Regions from separate parts of the Homo sapiens genome. Here region 2 is linked to region 1. The links are contacts of gene promoters, found by promoter capture Hi-C in blood cells and fetal thymus (Javierre and others, 2016). All regions are on one chromosome and are shown on one strand. The core of a region is centred on a gene start or on the middle of the fragment in contact, and the rest is flanking DNA. Distances in the headings are between cores, read along the strand shown. Region 1 holds the start of STAU2 (staufen double-stranded RNA binding protein 2). Region 2 overlaps LINC01617 (long intergenic non-protein coding RNA 1617).

Region 1 (2,645 bases), core at 92-2,591:
AGGGCTTCATATGTATTGTCACATTTAAATACGAACTATCTATCACATGTAGTCTCCTCTTGATGCACAGGATAAGTAACATGCCCGTGGTCTCCTCACCAGTTAGCAAGCGGATATCCAGCCTTGGTTATCTGACTCTGGCGCCCTTGCGGTTAACCAGGACACACACTACCTTCCCAGGTGCAGACATGAGATTGGTTTTAGATGATGACTGAAATCACCGGCCTGGGAGACATTTCTCAGTCAGAGAAGTGACACTGGGAAGAAACCCTAGAAATAACGTTGCAAACGAGTAAGTTTGTGAAAACACACTAATAGTTCTATTTCGAAATTTCTTTGTCAGATTATTTTTGGTGCCGGTTACTAAACGAAGTGTTCAGTTTCATTGAGCTTAACTGGGTTGAAGTTATCTAGACAAAAGTAATCCACATCAAAACCAGGACGAATTAAGACGTAATTTCTGTTTTCTGGCACTCTTGCCTCATAAATCTAGGATTCAGGGCATTGTTTTCAATGGTTCTCATTTTTGGCTCCAAGGATTCTTTTTCATGTGACTAATATTTTCGGTAGAAGAGGAGGTCTGGCCACGCCGCGGGTCTTGGCGAGCAGGTGATCACGGATCCCTGGTGTTTGCTGGGCGAGACGGTGAAGCAACCTCCTCCCCGCCCCCTCCCCCGTCTAGAAAGGTGCAAGATCCGCTAAACCGTGCGTTGCACAGCGGCGGCCGGAGCAGACGCGGGATGGTCGCGCGTCCCCTGCACAGCACAGAGGGGCAGCCGGAGAGCCTGGGAAAGGTACGAGCGGGGAATCAGAGCACAGGGTGCGGACCAGAAAGAGCAGACGGTCAGTCGGGCGGGGAAGGAAGTTGCCGAGTTGCAGGTGTGGAAGGGGCTGCCCCAGGCCCACCCTTGGCAGACGAGGGGGCGGGGAGTCGCGCCGGGGACGAGGAGACTGCGGACCGGGCGCGCTCCTTGCGCAGTCGCTCGCCCGCGTGCCCAAGCCCCCCGGGAATGGCCCTCGCCCAGGGGCCCAGCTCGCCGCCGCTAGCCCCGCAGAGCCTGCAGCTGCTGGGGCCCGGCAGCCGCCAGGGGGCGGGAGCTGCGTCGCGAACAATGGCCGCGCTTGGTCGCGGGCCGGCGGGAGGCGGAGTGGAGGTAGAGCCGGTGCCGGGCGCGCGCGCCGGCCGGGCGTGCTGGGGCGCGGGAGCGGCTGCGCAGGCGGGGGCGCGCGGCGCGAGCGCGGGAGGGCGCGGCGGGAGCGCCGGGGAGGCGGGCGGAGGCGGGCGGAGGCGGGGGGCGGGGAGCCCGAGGGGTGGAAGCCGGCGGCGGCCGAGCGGGGTCAGTTCTCTGTAGTGTTTGCCAATGTTGGAGCCGTCTGCAAAGTGTCCCCGGCAAGAAGGTAAATACCCTCATCGGGGGCGTCCGGGAGACCCCGACTTCCGCGCCGCCGGCGAAGAAGGCAGAGGGCGCTGGGGAGCCCTGCAGTTCCGCAGCACGGGGAACCCGGAGAAAAGCAGCCCCCTTCGCGGCCTCCCCTCCCCCGCGCCTTCCCTCCCACATCGGGCTCTCGGGGCAGCAGCGGGGAGGGGAGACCGGCGGGGGAGGGAGGACAGGGAGGCGAAGGAATTGGGGTGGGGGGTGCGTGTGTGGTGGAGGGGGTGGGACGACACAGGTGTCCTGAGGGGAGGAGCCGGGAGGAAGGCGAGGAGGCCGGGCCAAGTGGGGGTGCGGAGGTCGGGGAGACAGGAACGCGGCTGCGGGCGCGGGAGGCTGGGGTTCTAGGGGGCCGGGGTGGTAGCGGCCGGAAGAGAGGACGGCGAGTGCAGCCACGGTGTGGCTGCGAGGGAGAGGGAGCGCCTAGAGTAGGGCAGGGGAGGGCGGCCCGGGGAGGGTCTGCGGGAAATGGGCCTGGGGGCGCTGGAGGCGGAGCGGCGGGGCCGGGGCGCGCCGGAGGGTGGCGGCGGCAGCTATTTCTGTAGAATGGGCTAGTGGTAAAGACGTAACTTGCCGAAATGGGGAGGGTAGGTGGGGCCGAGGGGACAAAATATATCCTATGACAGGCAAGTTCTGCTGTGGCTGTTACGAACTCCTACCGTGATGGCTCGGCTTAAAGGGGTAGTTGGCGGTAGTGACCTTGCCGGGGTGAAGGGAGTTGGGCGAGGAGACAAAGCTCAGTTACGGAATCCGCTGTGTGAGAGCAGGAACTCTAGTCTCTTCGGGGTCGAGCCGGGGGCTGTGGCTTGGGGGCTGGGGGTGCTCCGCAGAGGCCATTGAGAAGCACGCCACTCTGGGATTCTTAGGGAGGCGGTGGGGGTAATGGCCGTGGGATTCTGGAAGTCTTTGGAAATGTGTGTAGAATTTTGCATTTGTGAATAATTTTCTTTGGTAAGGGTCCATATTTGCTGTGATGTCCCCTTACCCCCATCCCCACTCCAAAGGGTTAAGAACTGCTTGAGCAGATAGAGAGGGACCATTCAATTAGGGTAGACCTGGGAATTTACCAAAGGATTTTAAAGTGGGTGGATCCTGCAGAAAGAAAGGCTAGAGATGATCCTTTAAAGATATTTTACTGTTAATTGAAAACGTTTTTTATTTAATGTTTGCTTTCACAATTTTGGTGAACTTTTGCTGAGCATTACTTGGCTT
Region 2 (2,645 bases), core at 102-2,601, 140 kb before region 1:
AGCCATTCTCCTGTCTCAGCCTCCCGAGTAGCTGGGATTACAAGTGCTCTCACCATGCCTGGCTAATTTTTTGTAATTTTAGTAGAGATGGAGTTTCAGTGTGTTGCCCAGGCTGGTCTCGAACTCCTGACCTCAAGTGATCTGCCTGCCTCGGCCTCCCAAAGTGCTGGAATTACAGGTGTTAGCCACCATGCCTGGCCTAAAATCCAGCTTCCACACAAAGGAAAAGTGGTCTTATCTTTTTTCTTTTTTTTCTTTTTTTTGAGACAGAGTCTCCCTCTGTCACCCAGGCTGGAGTGCAGTGGCGTGATCTTGGCTCACTGTAACCTCTGCCTCCCGGCTTCAAGCTATCCTCCTGCCTTAGCCACCCTAGTAGCTGGGATTACAGGTGCATGCCACCATGTCTGGCTACTTTTGGTATTTTTAGTAGAGGCAGGGTTTCACCATGTTGGCCAGGCTGGTCTCGACCTCCTGACCTCAGGTGATCTGCACCCCCTCCCCCGCCCCCAGCCTCCCAAAGTGCTGGGATTACAGGTGTGAGCCACCAAGCCCAGCCTTATCTTGAGGTTTATACACCTATGCTGCTGATCTGATGGATAAACTTTTTTTTTTTTTTTTTTGGGTCAGGGGACAGGGCCTCACTCTTACCTAGGCTGGAGTACAGTAGCATGATCACAGTTCACTGCAGCCTTGATGCCCTTGGCTCAAGTGATCATCTCAGCTCAGCCTTCCAAGTAGTAGGCATATGCCACCATGCCCAACTAATTTTTTTTTAGAGATGGGGTCTTGCTATGTTGCCCAGGCTAGTCTCAAACTCCTGGGCATAAGCGATCCTCCTGCCTCAGCATCCCAGAATGCTGGAATTATAGGCATGAGCCACCATGCCTGACCCTGATGGATGAACTTCTAAGGGTCAGGAAGCTTCCTGAAATACAAATTTTCATGGGTATATGTATTTTTCTGTGGAGTGGGTCCATGGCTTTCATTTGATTTTTAATGAGATCCATGGCAAAAATAAATAAATAAAAAGGAACCACAGTCTTTTCAAGTAACGGCTTGCTATGAACATGTTTGGTAAGAGGTTTAGGTGAGAAATAAACAGGGAATATCAAGGGCTGCAGACATGGGTAAAAGAACTCTTGCTAGAGAAGGGCAAAGATGGGGAATAAAGTAAAAGTTTTCCTGATTCACAGTTTTCTTTGCAAACTATATGTGTATATAAATCAACTATTTTTGACACGTAGAATAAGTCACACTCAAAATAAGTCACACTTACAAACCATTGTTATTTTGTTCATCTTCTTCATCCTTTATTAGAAGACTTAAATGAAATGACTGGGATTTAAAATTACTTTTAAAAACACACTTTTGCTTTATAGATATGCATTTGTTATCACTCTGAATTATGAATATAGAATTTTTGCTACTTTATGAAATCCCATCTATATTTCGACTGGATTGCATCAGCATTTTAAAATTGTTAATCAAAGCCCCCTCTACTTCCCAGTATTTCTACATAAATTGCAATAAAACCAAGTTCATTCCTTAATATATTTACAAAAGTGATTTTTAAACTCAAAATGGTATGTAATTCCCATTTCATTTTATCTTAGACTTTTTAACATGGTATTTTAGACAAATCATGCACAATTTTGATTCTCTTTAATAGATGCATGGAATTTGAAATTTGGAAGAAACCATAAAGATTATGCAGTCTGACTTGCGCATTTTATTGATAAGGAAAGAAACCCAGAAAGATTAGAAGCCTTACCTAAGCTTGTTAATCACAGAGCTAAGATAAGAATACAAGCCTTGGATTCTTACTTTGGTACCTTTTCCAAAATCCAGTAACAAACTGTTGGTGACTGAACTGTCTCCATTTCTCTGCTGAGATCAGCCCCTAGGAGACTAAGAACAAACTACTGGGTGGAGGCATAGACTCAAGCAAGGACTCATCAATTCTGCCTTTTCATGCTTCAACAAACAAATGTTCACAGGACTGCTTCTGACTTCCCAGTTTAATAAATCACTAGAACAAAAGCATTCATAAATCACATTACATTATCCATTATAGCACTTACCCAGTAGTCCCTTTGTGGGTCCTTTAATGTTACTATTTAGTTTCCCATATTTCCTTTTCTTTACTAGCAGAAAGTCCAGATGCTAATTTAGACCTGTCTCAGGCTCTCTCTTTACCTTGGAAGGGAAGATCTCAGGCACATACACAGCTTGGGTATGTCCAGATTTTTTTTTTCTTCCAGGGAAGTGGAGATGCAGGTAGTTTGTGAGATGAGGGAGAATCTCCTCGTAAGCTGATGGACATTTCTAATAGCTGTGGAAATGAAAAAGTGAACATCATTATCAAATCTAACAAAAATAATAATTCCTTAATATCCTCTAATATCTACTCTATATTTAATTTTCTCCAGGTGTCTCAAAAATATCTCTTTTACAGTTTGTTTGAATCTAGATCCAAACAATGTTAACATATGCATTTGTTCAATGTACTCTTACGTGGCCAAGCATGGCCTGTAATCCCTGTAATGCCAGCACTTTGGAAGGCCAAGGCAGGTGGATCACTTGAGGCCAGGAGTTCGAGACCAGCCTGGGCAACATGATGAAACCCCGTCTCTACTAAAAATACA

Evidence for each region. The method cuts DNA at HindIII sites, captures the fragments that hold promoters and counts their contacts. A CHiCAGO score of 5 or more calls a contact.
Region 2: a fragment that was not itself captured here is called in contact with the fragment with the promoter of STAU2 in region 1 in 11 of 17 cell types (neutrophils, naive CD8 T cells, non-activated CD4 T cells and 8 more); the score reaches 11.8 in neutrophils.

What each region holds. Positions count from the first base shown.
Region 1 is chr8:73,745,536-73,748,180 of GRCh38, reverse strand. STAU2 (staufen double-stranded RNA binding protein 2) reads left to right here and starts at 1,341. Exons shown (of 15, transcript NM_001164380.2): 1 at 1,341-1,398. RefSeq lists silencers at 839-1,128, 1,209-1,298, 1,589-1,768, 1,879-1,938. The HindIII fragment of the contact is 14,890 bases long and covers 1-2,645 here.
Region 2 is chr8:73,881,714-73,884,358 of GRCh38, reverse strand. It overlaps LINC01617 (long intergenic non-protein coding RNA 1617), which reads right to left. Exons shown (of 3, transcript NR_147034.1): 2 at 2,197-2,332; 3 at 1,285-2,029. Among named protein-coding and RNA genes, the nearest start is that of LINC01617, 4.1 kb to the right of the region's middle. The HindIII fragment of the contact is 855 bases long and covers 924-1,778 here.